3 separate regions of the Homo sapiens genome follow, and regions 1 and 2 are each linked to region 3. The links are contacts of gene promoters, found by promoter capture Hi-C in blood cells and fetal thymus (Javierre and others, 2016). All regions are on one chromosome and are shown on one strand. Each heading gives the region's core, a stretch centred on a gene start or on the middle of the fragment in contact. The rest is flanking DNA. Distances are from core to core; before and after follow the strand shown.

The links. Contacts are between HindIII fragments. The CHiCAGO score rates a contact against its expected background, and 5 or more counts as called.
Region 1: a fragment that was not itself captured here is called in contact with the fragment with the promoter of YTHDC1 in region 3 in 1 of 17 cell types (fetal thymus); the score reaches 5.3 in fetal thymus.
Region 2: a fragment that was not itself captured here is called in contact with the fragment with the promoter of YTHDC1 in region 3 in 1 of 17 cell types (activated CD4 T cells); the score reaches 5.2 in activated CD4 T cells.

Annotation. Positions count from the first base shown.
Region 1 is chr4:67,747,290-67,751,607 of GRCh38, reverse strand. All of the region lies in intron 1 of GNRHR (gonadotropin releasing hormone receptor), which reads left to right. LOC124900175 (small nucleolar RNA SNORA62/SNORA6 family) reads right to left here; the gene lies at 4,222-4,318. Among named protein-coding and RNA genes, the nearest start is that of GNRHR, 4.9 kb to the left of the region's middle. The HindIII fragment of the contact is 362 bases long and covers 2,221-2,582 here.
Region 2 is chr4:67,679,460-67,684,524 of GRCh38, reverse strand. It overlaps UBA6 (ubiquitin like modifier activating enzyme 6), which reads left to right. Exons shown (of 33, transcript NM_018227.6): 3 at 2,312-2,406; 4 at 2,934-2,962. Among named protein-coding and RNA genes, the nearest start is that of UBA6, 19 kb to the left of the region's middle. The HindIII fragment of the contact is 2,898 bases long and covers 1,062-3,959 here.
Region 3 is chr4:68,348,184-68,353,078 of GRCh38, reverse strand. YTHDC1 (YTH N6-methyladenosine RNA binding protein C1) reads left to right here and starts at 2,989. Exons shown (of 17, transcript NM_001031732.4): 1 at 2,989-3,353. The coding sequence starts at 3,326. RefSeq lists an enhancer at 3,041-3,620. The HindIII fragment of the contact is 7,711 bases long and covers 98-4,895 here.

The DNA of each region.
Region 1 (4,318 bases), core at 1,152-3,651, 600 kb after region 3:
GCCAAATATTTATCTAACTTGATGTAGCAAAAAGAAAATAGGAACTTAACTTTGAATTGTTTAGGAATTTCATGTAATAGTCTGACCTCAAATACATTACTAGAGAGATTTATGTGAATGTGAGCCACAGAAAATGGTGTTATTTTATTTTGTAAAACACATGACTCATCCTTACTTTCAACAACACTTTAAAGCACTTTGCTGAAGTTTCCTGAATAACCTCACATAAGTAATGCTGATATTTACGTTAACTCTATAAGGTAAATAGGAGCTGTGTTATTATCCCTATTTCATATATAAGAGAGCTAAGGTCTAAACCTATGAAGACAATGGCATTCAAATCCTTTTGCAATAATCCAAAGTAAGAAATACACACTACACTGAAACCTTGTTTGTGTCTCTGTCTCTTTCTCTCACACATATAACTGAGAAAAAATTTTGATGAAATAAATATTCTATTCTGTTACATTTTATTTTTTACTGTTGATTACAACTCATTGCTGAGCATATCCTGCAGTTCAAAAAGCACTGATTTAAAAGGATTCATTAGCATTCCCAGTGTCACGTGCTCTGTTGGACTCGTGTTGTCTTATTCTTTCCTTTTATTATGGCTCTCTTCAATTTCTCTGAATAAAAGAAATTTCAATCCCATAACTAATGTTACATATATTTGATGAGGAACATGAGAGAGAAAGAGGGCTTTTTATTTCTAGACTGTGATGCATGATGAGTGTGTCTCATGCTTCACCATGCTCTGTGGTCAATTATAAAAAATGTAATTGACAAAGGCACGTCCTATTGTGCCTAATTTACATTAAAAGGGTAACTTTAATTTTCATCCTTTGGTGCACATACCGATTTTCTATTATTTGAGTAATTCATACCTCAGTTGAAAAAAAAACACTTAACAAACATGTTTTCACCACTCAGGGCTGGGGATCTGGGAATTTATGACATTTTGCCTCAGCTCAGAATGACCAAATTTCAAATTGGCCTCCTAGATTTTCCACTTTCCTCATTATTAACCTCAGAAGCTATGTTCTGTGATAATTCGGCAGTGCATTCTCAGAAGTTTTAGCATAGTGTGGCATAGAAACTTTCAAACTTTATGCTAGTAATAGAATTCTTTTTAAAAAATTCTATATCACAATGTACCCCATAAATATGTACAATTATTATGTGTCTGTTAAAAATTTTTAAATAAAATACAGTACAAAAAATCCTGTACAAAAAGCCATAATGAATGAAACAGATATAAGTGGAGCTGCTCTGGTTAAAATAGAGGGAAAGGAGGACCAGTCCTCCACTTGGTTATTCACTAGCTCTCAGTCACAGTTACTAAAGACTTCCTATCTCCTTGCAGCAAAGTTCAAAAGCCAATGGGATAGTAAAAGTGGCATGAGTGTGAGATTCAAATGGAGTTGGGCTCAAATCTCAGTAATACTGCCTACCAGCTATGTGACTCTGAGCAAATTACTTACATTTAAAAGAGTAATTGTAAAGAATAAGTCATACAATTTATAAAATCATCTAAGACTTTACACCTTAATTTTAAATACTAATTTAATATTTATTTTTCTTCTTTTCCTTTCTTCCTAAGACCATCCTTTCTTCTTACCTTCATAAAAGAGGTTTTGAAGTCAGGAAAGAAAAAGTACAGAAATATGAGTATGGAATTGTTGGTTCTTTAAGAAACAGCAAAAAGAAATGCTTATATAAAAGTGGATTATTTCAAATTTTTCAAAATTATAGCATGCATTCTGACTGATTAGTAAACTACTCCCTGGTCACAAAGCTATCATACTCACTCTGCTAATTATACATGTCAGAGCACAGTAATTCAAGTCTTGGAGGTATCGTATATAAAAGTGGGGAAAGACGGAAGGAAGGAAGGAAGGAAAGAAGGAAGGAACGAAGGAAAGGAGGCAGGGAGGGAGGGAAAGGAGGGAAGGGGAGGAAAAAGGAGGAAAGGTAGAAAAGAAAAACGAAGGAGGGAAGGAGGAAAAGAAAAAGCAGCAAACACCCTGGGATAGCTTTGGTTTAAGACCATCTGTGGTTAGGGTGGTAAATATAAATTGAAGAGAAGACATTTCCTAAATTAGATGTGCCCGTATCTAATTTAAAATCACATGGTTTCTAATAAGAGTCATTTAATACCACAAGAATTCCAGAGTAGCAGGTTATTTGCAGAAAGAGTTCATAGCTTATCTGTGTTAAGCTTATCACTAGTTTATCTGTACTAATACAGAGTATTACATATTGACAGCTTTTAAATTCTATGGTTAACCCAGGCCTGCCGGCAAGAAATGTGGGCCACTCCTTAGTCCTTAGTGTAAAGATATGTTGTCTGAAGATGTGTGGAGGCTTGCCTTAACACACAGAGAATTTACTGGTGTAGAATGCACTACTGACATTGGCCAACGGTTTAAATTCAATAAATATTATCACACAGGTACAATATGCCTAACATTGTGCTACAACATAGTACTGTGCTACTAGCAGAAATAACAATAGCAATAATGTTGATGATGATAAATAATGCTTGAAGACATAAATATGTGCCAGGAATTTGGCTAAAAGCTTTTACATGCTAGGTTCACAGAACAGGCAGTGAATAAATATTAAATAAATAAGCTTTTACATGCAATATTTCATATAATGCTTCCAACAATCACATAAATTATGCACAATCATTATCTTTATTTTACACATGAAGAAACTAAACCTCCAATATTATATAACATGCCCAAAATTACTGTTTACTAAGTGGAAATCTCAGTATATCAGTATATTTAGTTATCTATATATGGCCATATCCATAGCCAGCTCTTTTTTTTTTAACAGTCAGAGGCTTCCCATTTATTTATTTATTTATTTATTTTATTATTATTATTATACTTTAAGTTTTAGGGTACACGTGCACAACGTGCAGGTTTGTTACATATGTATACATGTGCCATGCGAGTTAATGGGTGCAGCCAGCTCTTTTAACTACTACACTCTACCCAACTCTGCCCAGTGAACACTGCAATATTGTCTATTTCCTTTTTACCTGTAGGAGGCTGGGGAAGAAAAAGGCAGAAAAAGCTTGAAGTGAAAACTGATGCTTAAAACACATCAAGAAAAAAATATATATGATACACATTTATAAACATATAAACGCATATGGATACATATAAAAATTGTGTGCCTCAAGTTTTAATTATAATAATGGTAAAGATTTATAAAGTGCTGTGTTCCAGGCACTATTCCAGGTGCTTTGCATGTATTAACTCATTTATTGTCATGATAGGCCTTAGAGGTAGATATTACTATTTTCTCCATGTATGTAGATGAGGAAACTGAAGCACACATCTGAAGATAATTACCTGTGGACAACACTAGGTAAGGGTGTAATTAGTGTGGGTAAGGTGAGTGTTAAAGATAATATTCTAAGAAGAAATGAACAACTGCAATTGACTGTGAAAAACAAAAACAGAATGTTCTTGTTTATGGCAAAATAAAGCAAACACTGATAAGAACCAGGGCCAGGGGCAAGAGAGGAGAAATATACCAAAATTAAAGAAATATAATCCAAGGACAAATGAACAACTAAAAGCAAAGTGGATCTCTACATAAATCATTCAAATGAACATGGCCTTGGAGCACAAAATAAACGGAACTAAGACAATAGCAAGTTAATTTATGGGCAAGTAAGATTCTGAATTTGTGTACACTTTATTATACCTTTCTTAAAATTTATTGGTCTATCTTGTATTACCTGGGTCACATACATTTTAAATCTGCACTACCAAATATTAAATTCCCTGATTGAAGGATATAACTGCTTTATCTTTTATGACAGAGAATGCCAGCTATAGTTTATTTTACCAAAGAGTTGCTTAAAAAATAAGCATGTGTTAAATAAGATAGCCATTAACTCAATCATAGTACTATGTTTCAAAGTCATTGCTAATTGAAAGTTTCATCATTATGGCTTTTTTAAACATATTTTATTTTTTTAATTATAAATTTTTTCCAGTTACAAATGAACCAATTTGAACCACGCACTACCCATCTTTTTAGAATCTTATAGTAGAACTCACCAAGTTGGTGTGAAAACAGAAAGGCCAAGTAATGCCTGAGAGGCCTGAGTAAGAAATACAGACAAACGTAGAAAAAAAACACACTGCTTTTCAAATGTTTTCATCTCTCCTCAAAACTGGCATGCAATAACATTAGACTTGTCACAAGAACTCCTATCAAACTCCACTCATTGGGCCAGAGACCTTTGTGGTGTTAGCAAAAAACTCACCCCTCATGTAGCATACTACCTACG
Region 2 (5,065 bases), core at 1,261-3,760, 670 kb after region 3:
TGCATTTAAGCGGGAAATTAATACAAACGATAACTTAAAAATGTCCCATAAAATTAGAAATTTCAAAATATACTTTGGATTAACACATAAAAAAAGAATCATAATTAAAATGGGAAAATAATGAAGTGCTCTTATCAAAACTTGAGATGCTCTTAATGTTACATTTTACATTAGTAGTTGAGAAACTAAAATCTAAATATTAATGGGTTTTATTTCAGGTAACTAGAAAAAAAAGAAAATTAGATTTATTAGTGTAGGAAATATTTCAAGAGCCAAGTTTACAAGTGCCAACCAAGGGCCAGCCCTGTAAGCATGCCCTTCTAAAGACCAAGCCTGCACAGCCAGGTTGTGAAATTGCAGAGACTTTGATACACTGCCAAAAGAAGGGTAACTTGCTGCATCCACTTTGATTTTGGGCTGGGGGCAGGGGGTTGTTTTGTTTTGTTTGAAACAGGATTTCATTCCCGTCGCCCAAGCTGGAGTGCAGTGGCATGATCTTGGCTCACTGCAACCTCCACCTCCTGGCTCAAGCAATTCTCCTGCCTCAGCCATCCGAGTAGCTGGGACTTAACTGCAGGCACCCACCACCTCATCCTGCTAATTTTTGTAGTTTTTATAGAGATGGGGTTTTGCTGTGTTGCCCAGGCTGGTCTTGAACTCCTGAGCTCAAGTAATCCACCCATGTAGGCCTCCCAAAGTGCTGGGATTATAGGCGTGAGCCACCACAACTGTCCTGGTACGTCCATTTTGGAAAACAGTTTGGCACTGTCTAATGAAGTTGAAGTATACATATTCTTAAATCCTGCATTTCCTCTCTGGGGATATACATTAGAGCAGGGGTGTCCAATCTTTTTGCTTCCCTGGGCCACATTGGAAGAAGAATAATTGTCTTGGACCACACATAGAATCCACTAACAGTAATGATAGCTGATGAACTAAAAAAAAAAAAAAATTGCAAAAAAATCTCATAATGTTTTAAGAAAGTTTACGAATTTGTATTGGGCCGCATTCAAAGCTGTCCTGGGCCGCATGCAGCCTGTGGACCGTGGGTTGGACAAGCTTGTATCAGAGAAACAACTCTTAAGTGTGTACCAGGAGATGTTTATAAGAATGGTCAGAATACAATATAAATGAATATTAATGACCAGTTGCAGACATCAGTATAAGTCCATCTCATAAATAATTTCATTCAAAAGAAACAAGATAAAAGACACTCAAAGTGATTCCATCTATACAAAGTCTAAAATCAGGTAAAACCTAAGTATATTATTTCTGGGTACGCATAAGGGTGGTAAGACTATATAAGAACTTTCGTACATACTATAGTAGATTTTCAATAAATATTTGATGTGTAAATGGATAGTTTTTACTTTCTAAAACAAAAGTCTTGAGTACCAATTTAAAAAGAAAAGTTTAGGTTTTATTATATTTTGTATGAAACAGGGAAGGAAATAAAGATAGCTTGTGTTTATAAAGTTTTGTCTCTCTAGATAAGAAATCCCTTTTCAGGCTTTTATGTTGAATATGAAAAGCTGAAATAATGGAAATTAAATATTTATTTTTAAAACAAATGTGCATTAAACATGTATGTGTTAATTCTGAAAGTAAATACTTATAACCCAAGGGGTTCTGAAATTATTTATTTATATCGAACTAATCTTTAAAATGTTTCTCATAAGAATTCATTGGAATTTATATTATCTCCAAAGATAGCATCAAGTTTCTCATTGTTCTTTCAGATAAACACTTACAATTGACTTTATTACTATATCAGACTTTTAAATTACTAACGTATATTTTTTGAAATTCCCATCCTGTTACTACCTTGTGGCTATTAGGATGCATAACTTAACAAGGTCCTTTATATAACATCTGAACTCCAAGAAGAGAACCAAATTTTTTTTGTTGTTGTTGCCTCAGAAATCCTGTTGATAGTGAAAGTTTTAAGGTGGAAATGGCAAACTCAAATGCTTATAGTGGCCACTGAGGTAATAAATGAGAGGAACAGGAAGGAATTGATTGTGGCAAATCTGGAGCACATAATCCTCCTGCCTAAACAGGGCAACTCTTACTCACCTCCATCTGTCTATTGCCTTGAGGGAATATGGATTGTGGTGCCAAATTATCTGATTTTTCAAAATATGTCATATATTTGGCATTTAATTCAGAAATGTTTAAACACTGTGCAAATCATTCATAACAAGTCTGTGGGCCGGATTGAGTTCCTAGGCTTTTAGTTTGCAAACAACTTTAAGAGATATTATAATTTCAGTGAAATAATTTTTTGTTTTTTATTGTGTTTTCCGTGTAGTCGACAGAGGTACGTTCTTGGAGACACAGCAATGCAGAAGATGGCCAAGTCCCATGTTTTCTTAAGTGGGATGGGTGGTCTTGGTTTGGAAATTGGTAAGCAATATTTATATTCCTAATTTTTGACACTTTTGAGCAATGAAGATAGTTTAAATAACTTAACTTCATCCCCTTATATTTCCTATAAAGGAAGTTAGATCCAAAATGTTGATCAGATTGAGTTTTTAATCTTTGTCAAGACTATTTCGTGATGTTATATTCTTCCACAAAGAACCAATAATGACTCATTGCTTCTTTTTGTGATGTTAATAGCCATTAATTATCATTCTCTATATCCATTAATTCATTATAAGCACACATACATATACTGTATTCATAAAAACATATCTGGAAGAATACGTTGAAATTTTAGGAGTGATTATCTCTGGGTGTTGTGATTATGCACATTTTAATTTTTTCACTTTTAACCTGTATTTTGTAACTTTTTTAAGACAAGGAACTTGTATTAAGTAGTAAAAAAAGAAGTTAAAAGTATGCAGTCAGATATGTGACTAAGCTCTGTGAAGACATATCTAGTGTGTATTCCCAATATTGAGCTATTCCTTTTTCTTTTGCCTTTCTAGCAAAGAATCTTGTTCTTGCAGGGATTAAGGTAAGTAAATGTCCTCTGTAAGAAAAATTGTTATGAGCCTTTTTTTTTGGCTCATTTGTTATGGTAATATTGTTTATACTTTGTTTTAATTATTGTCTTTAATGCTCTACTTTTTAAAAAAAATCATGGAAATTTAAAAAATATACAAAGAAAGAATTGTGTAACAAAACCCCACATACCCATCAGAAAGCATCAGTTACCAACTCTTGGGGACATTTGTTTCATATATCTTCTTCCCATTCCTTATTGCCCCCAACTGCCAAATTATTTTGATGTAAATTTCAGACATTGTATTATATCATCCTTAAATATTTTAGTAGTATCTTTAAAAGATAAGAATATCTTTTGAAGCAGCAATATAATTTTCACACCTAAAATGTAACAAGCTCTTAATACCATTGTATTAGTTTACATGTTGCTATAAAACAGTTTACCCCAAAATTTGTAGCTTAAGCAACATTTGTTGTCTCATAGTTTCTGTGAGTCAGGATTCGGGCATGACTCTGGTTGGGGTTTCTCTGGGAGTCTCTTACAAGGCTGCAGTCAAGGTATTAGCAGGGCCTGCAGTCATCTTGAGGCTAGACTGGGGAAGGATCTGCTTCCCAAGCTGGCTCATGTGGTTCTTGGTAGGATTTAGTTCTTCATGTATTGTTAAACTGAGGACCTCAGTTCCTGCTGGCTCTTGACCAAAGGTCACCCTCAATTCCTTGCTTGTATGGCTTTCTCCATAGGGCAGTTCACAGTGTGGCAGTTTGCTTCATCAGAGTAAACAAGTAAGACAGGAGAAGAGAGTGTGTTAACAAGACAAGTCAGTCTTTTGTAACCTAATCTCAGAAGTGGGTCCAGGCCACACTCAAGGTGGGAGATCACACGAAAGCCTAAATACTATGAAGCAGGAAACATTGTGGCCATCTTAAAAGCCTGTCTACCACAGTCATCAAATGTCTAGTTAGAGTTCAAATTTTCCCAAATGTCTTAAGACATTTTATTGAAAGCTTGTATCATTCTAATCAGGATCCAAGTAAAATTCGTATACTGAACTTGGTTTATTTTAATCTATAGATTTCCCTTCCTTGCCTAGGTTTTTTCTTGCAATTTATTTGTTGAAGAAACTAGTCATTTGTCACAGGTATTTCTACATGTGTATTTCCTGTAAACTGGTAGTTATAGCCAGAGAATCCAGTTCAGATTTGATTCTTTTTGGCAAGACTGTTTCATAGCTGTTCTCCCATCAGGAGACAGTAATATTCTGTTGTCTCTCTTTTTGTGATTATTATTAGCTGTTAATTATTATTGCCTAGATTCATTATTTCATTAGGGGCAGTGATGATGTTTTATCATTCTTTTCTCATTTATTAGCTGGAATTATATTTTAGAAAAAAATTCCAGTCATGACTTTCTTGGTTTCACGAAAGTATGGATTGTACATTTACAAAATGCAGGATAAATACTACATTTTTCCCCATTAACTTACCAGTTTTCAAAATCAGTGGTTTCCTGTCATCATTTCGTAGTATTGACCAGTGAATTTATATGTATGTGTACATTATGATAAACTCATGGATTTAAACATAATTTGATGTGTTTTGATCTATTATAGTTATTTTCATTGATGCTCAGATTGTTCCATCTTTGGTTATTGTGGTTCTCTTCCTGTTTTTTGAGGCTTTGAGACACAGCCCCCAGTAGTCTTTGTCGCTGTTTACAAAGTCTTTTCAGTGGGCAGAGCTAGAACGTTCGTAATGAGTAAATACTGAAATTTCTGATTTTCAGGTTTAGGCTTATAAAGTATTACTAAAATTTCTAATTTTTACTTTGGATTATAGGATATTTATTTCTGTGATTTTATATTTGTATCTTATTAGGATTTTGGTTTCTAATGATCCATTACGTGCTTTATCCTATATATGCTATATATTCTTTATCCTATTATATTTTACTTGTATGGCATAGTTTCAGAATACCAATTCCAATATTGTTAATAATAATGTATTATTGAAAAAAATTTAGAGTTTTTTGATCCTACCTGGATTTGGCAGGCAAATTAACTGCTTTTAAAAGTCACTTTAAATAAATCTCTGTGTGTAGCAGACTCCATAAACA
Region 3 (4,895 bases), core at 1,740-4,239:
TTAAGATACTAAAGATTAGAAGTTAATTTCTCTAAGGTCTCATGCTATTGAGAGACAGAGCTGGAATTTGTACCCACGTCATTATGACTGCAAAGCTTACTCTCTTAATCACTACACAATAGCTTCAGACCAATGTTCAACATACCTAGAGTTCATCCTTTATAACCTCAACAACTTTTCCTATTTACTAACATGACTGAATTAAAAACCGCATTTTTTTACAGCTGTGCTCTTAGTTTAACATAAACTTACTTCATTTTATTTTTTGAGACAGGGTCCAGCTCTGTTGCCCAGGCTGGAGTGCAGAGGCGTAATCATGTCTCACTGCAGCCTTGACCTCGCCGGCTCAAGCAATCCTCCCACTTTGGCCCCCAGAGAAGTTGGGACTACAGGTGTGCACCACCATGACCAGCTATTTTTTATTTTATTTTCTGCAGAGATGTGGTTTCGCCAGGTTGCCCAAGCTGGTCTTAAAACTCCTGAGCCCAAGTGATCCACCTGCCTTGGCCTCCCAAAGGGCTGGAATTACAGGCATGTGCCACTGCAGCTGGCCCCATAAACTTATTTTAATAACAAAGATGCAAATATGGAATTCTATTTACATTAAAAATTACTCCTTAGTTCTAATAGGACAAATGTAGAATCAGGGAAAATGGCATTTTGATATCTTCTAAATTACTTGGCTGTTTTCTTATGCTCTTCTTTACAAAAAATTATTAAAGGAAACTCAAATATGCAAAAAAGTAGAGAAGAGAGTATAATATTAACTAATGTATGTGGAAATCAAAAGGTATCTGAGGCAGGTCTCAATCAATTTAGAAAGTTTATTTTGCCAAGGTTAAGAAAGAGCCCATGACAGCCTCAAGCTGTCCTGATGACATGTGCCCAAGGTGGTCGTGCACAGCTTCATTTTATACATTTTAGGGATACATGAGACATCAATCACCAGCTTGACTTCTTCCTTTGGCTTAGTGATGTTGGGGAGATTTTCCTTTCACATATGTATCGCCCAGCTTCAACAATTGTTAACTCATGGGTAGACTTGTTTAATCTATTCTCCTACCCATTTCGCTACACCTGCCACCAGTTTGATAAATCCCAGATACCATATAATTTCATTTGCAAATATTTATTACTATTCTTATTATTATTTTGAGACAGAGTCTAGCTCTGTTGTCCTGGTTGGGGTGAAAGTGGCACAATCTCAGCTCACTGCAACCTCCGCCTCCCGGGTTCAAGCAATTCTGCCTTAGCCTCCCGAGTAGCTGGGACTACAGGCGCATGCCATCATGCCTGGCTAATTTTTGTATTTTTAGCAGAGACGGGGTTTCACCATATTGGTCAGGCTGGTCTCAAACTCCTGACCACAGGTGATCCGCCCGCCTGGGCCTCCCGAAGTGCTGGGATTACAGGTATGAGCCACTGCATCTGGCCTGCAAATATTTTCATATGAATCATGAAATTATAAGAAATTCTTTAAAAAGCAAAACTTATTAAAACTAAAAATACAAATAGCAATTCCTCAGGATCATCAGATATTATTTAATGTGTGTGTGTGTGTGTGTTTGTGGCGTGTGCGTGTTCGTATATTCAAATTAGTGTTCAATTAAGGTCCTAGAAATGGGGCCACTCCTGGTGGCTTCACACCTGTAATCCCGCACTTTGGGAGGCCGAGGTGGGAGGATTGCTGGAGCCCAGGATTTAGACACTAGCCTGGGCAAGATGGCTAGGTGTTAGCCATCTTGCGGAGATGGTATATCTCCACAAAAAATGCAAAAAATGTGTCGGATGTGGTGGAGCATGCCTGTAGTTCCAGCTACCTGGGAGGTTAAGGTGGGAGGATCACTTGAGCCCAAGGTTGCAGTGAGCCATGATCACACCACTGCACTCCAGCCTGTGTCACAGTGAGACCACGTCTCAAAAAAAAAGAGGTACCACATTCTAGACTTCTAGACTACTTGTCTTTCCCTGAATATGCAGTTAGTTTGCCAGTTTGTCTTCATATCACGAAGTTACTTAGTTACCTTTTTCAGATTTTTCTTTCCCTTATAACTCAGTTATAGTTCAAGGAAGCAAAATTAGATTGTTTCCGTTGGACAATGAATCTTAAGCAAGTTTCTCTTGCAGATTTTACCACACTATGTAGTTATGTATCTACTGGTCATTTATTCTGTAGTTTCGATTCCTCGATGGTCTGCTTAAATCAATTTTGTGCCCCAGGGCCTTGATAACATGTTTAAATTAGTTATTAATTACAAAGACCTATTATGATACAATTCTTTCCCCAATTAAAAACAAAACTAGGCCGGGCGTGGTAGCTCACGCCTGTAATCCCAGCACTTCATCCTGGCCAACATGGTGAAATCCCGTCTCTACTAAAAATAAAAAAATTAACTGGGCGTGGTGGCGGGCGCCTGTAGTCCCAGCTACTCAGGAGGCAGAGCCAGGAGAATCGCTTGAACCTGGGAGGCGGAGGTTGCGGTGAGCCGAGATCGCGCTGCTGCACTCCAACCTAGCGACAGAGCGAGACTCCGTCTCAAAACAAACAAAAACTAGCAGGCTTTTGTGACTACAAACAAGCTGGTTGCATGCTGCACTGCCTTTGGGTAAGAGTGGAACTCCAACTAAGAAAGTACATCTGGTAAACATAAGGGATTCACCCAGACTTGTCCTAAATAAGACTCCGATTACCCGAACTGAATCAGGAGTCCTTTAGAGCGACTCTAGCTAAGAAGGCCTGTTAGGCCCTGCACTAAGAGTTTCAGGTGGGAAAATTGCGCCATCCAGTTATAGGCCGTACAGCGGGAACTCCATGAACAACCTGGGTAACCTAATCCCTGAATAAGACTCCTTCCAGGTACCAGTGGGCTGAGGGCGGCAGGGCGACGCGCTGACGTCACGTCACGTTCCTTTGCACGTCCCCGCCTCCCCGCCCCTCTCCGCACTGTGACGTTCCCAGAGAGGAACGAAGCGTAAACAGCGCAGGGCATTTCGGGAGCGGGATTGTTTCGCGCAGGAAGCAGGCTCCATTTTAGCGCCGCCCGCCGTCGCCATCTGTTTCCCTTCCCTCCCCCATACCTAGCCCGAGTCTGAGCCCTAACGAGAAGGCTGGGCCTAGGCCGCTGGATGCTGGAGTGAAAGGAAGGGAGAAAGGGAAAAAGCGGGAAGAGTCGAGAAGGCTGAGTGTTAAGAGGCCAAGTGCGACGCGCGTATCCGGGCAGACGGACTGACGGACGGGCCCGTGCTTCTGCCGCGGCTGCGGCGCCCGCGCGAGTCGCGTCTAAGCGGCGGCGGCGGTGGCAGCGGCGGAAACCGAAGGGGAGCCATGGCGGCTGACAGTCGGGAGGAGAAAGGTTAGTGCGGAGAAAGATGACGGGCCGAGGCGAGGCTGGGGCCCGGGAGTGGGGTGATGGAGCAGTGGTCGTCGTTGGGGGTGGGGGGTGGGGGTTGGGGAGGTTAGCTGGCCTCGCGAGGAGCCGGTGGCCCCCACCGAGACACTTAGACTCTGGCGGAGACCAGGCCTGCCCTTTCGTCCTCAGTCTCCATATGGCCTAGCACTTCATCTCAGTAGGGTTTTTCTTTGATGCGGATTTCACGCTTGACTTTCCGTTTAGCTGTCTTGGGCTGAGAGGGGCCCTTTCTGAGTTGCAAGCTCCTAGGTTTATTTCCTGGTAGGATCATGCGGATGTAACGCGTATTTTCAGGACAACCATTTCTGTTAGGCTAAAATTTGAAAACCCCTAATGCCGCGATCAACACTGGTGGTGTGGTAAGTGAGCAAGTTTAGGAAGTGGCACTGGCAGGTTATTAATCTTGAGAAATATCTGCAAATAACTTCTGGCTGTTCCTGTTAAATAGGCAAAGTGAATTACCCGTTTTGTTCCTCGAATACTTATTTTGGAAAAACATAGTACTTGGAAAAAGGAATACTTAGTTTGGAAAGATGACTGTGTGACTTAGGCTGGCAAAGAAATCCTGGGTGCTATTATGTTAGAAAAACCGTGTGTAGCTCCCAGAGGGTACAGTCAGAAACAAATGAATGCAAGTTACAGAGAGTTGGAGGGATAAATTTCAGTGAAATGTAGAGAGAACTGACGTTGCTGTAATGGAAAGATAGTAATACTAAGTTCCCAAGCCCTAGAGATATTAATGTAGGTCCTAGATCAGTGTCTCTCTGGAGAGTGGTCTAGATTAAATGCTGCTTTAAGATCTTTTTCAACCCTAAGATTAACATAATAGTCTTGGAAAGATTATAGTTAAAAATATGACACGGTCGCTGCTCTGTGTCTCACACATCTCTTCTGTGTGCCTAATTGATTTGGGGTTTTTTTGTCGGGGGTTGTTAAGTGGGCTCTAGAGTCAAGTTACATTAGGCGTGTAATCCTTTTTTCTTAATTTTTCTGGTTTCTGCATCAGGAGAGTCTTCATGCTTCAATGAACTGCCCTAGGTTAGGGACAAGCTGGGAAAGTGGAATGGGTGGGAATACTTTTAAGATACTGCCCTTATCCTAAAGTAGTTCTTTGATTAGGTTATAGCAGTTTAATGTTCCATCCTTAAACTAAATGCTAAAAAATCTCCCTGGGCCTTTTTTTTTTTTTTTTTTGAGAAATCCAGAAGTAATGGGAACATAGGATTGTATGGTGTTAGTGAGTAAAGGAAAATGCTTTTAATTAGTTAACTCAGTTATTAAAATACATGATCTTAATTAGTAAGTATTCAGCAAACATCTGATTGTCTTTCTAATTTATGAACTGTGGATATGGGAGTCTGTAGTGGTTGTGGTGGGCGAAATGAACCAAACACAAAAATGAGTAAAATTCAGTACTTCTCAAGAATTCGTTGTCTAAGATGAAAATATTTACAAGTCGTTAATAGAGTAGACGCAGTAATGCAC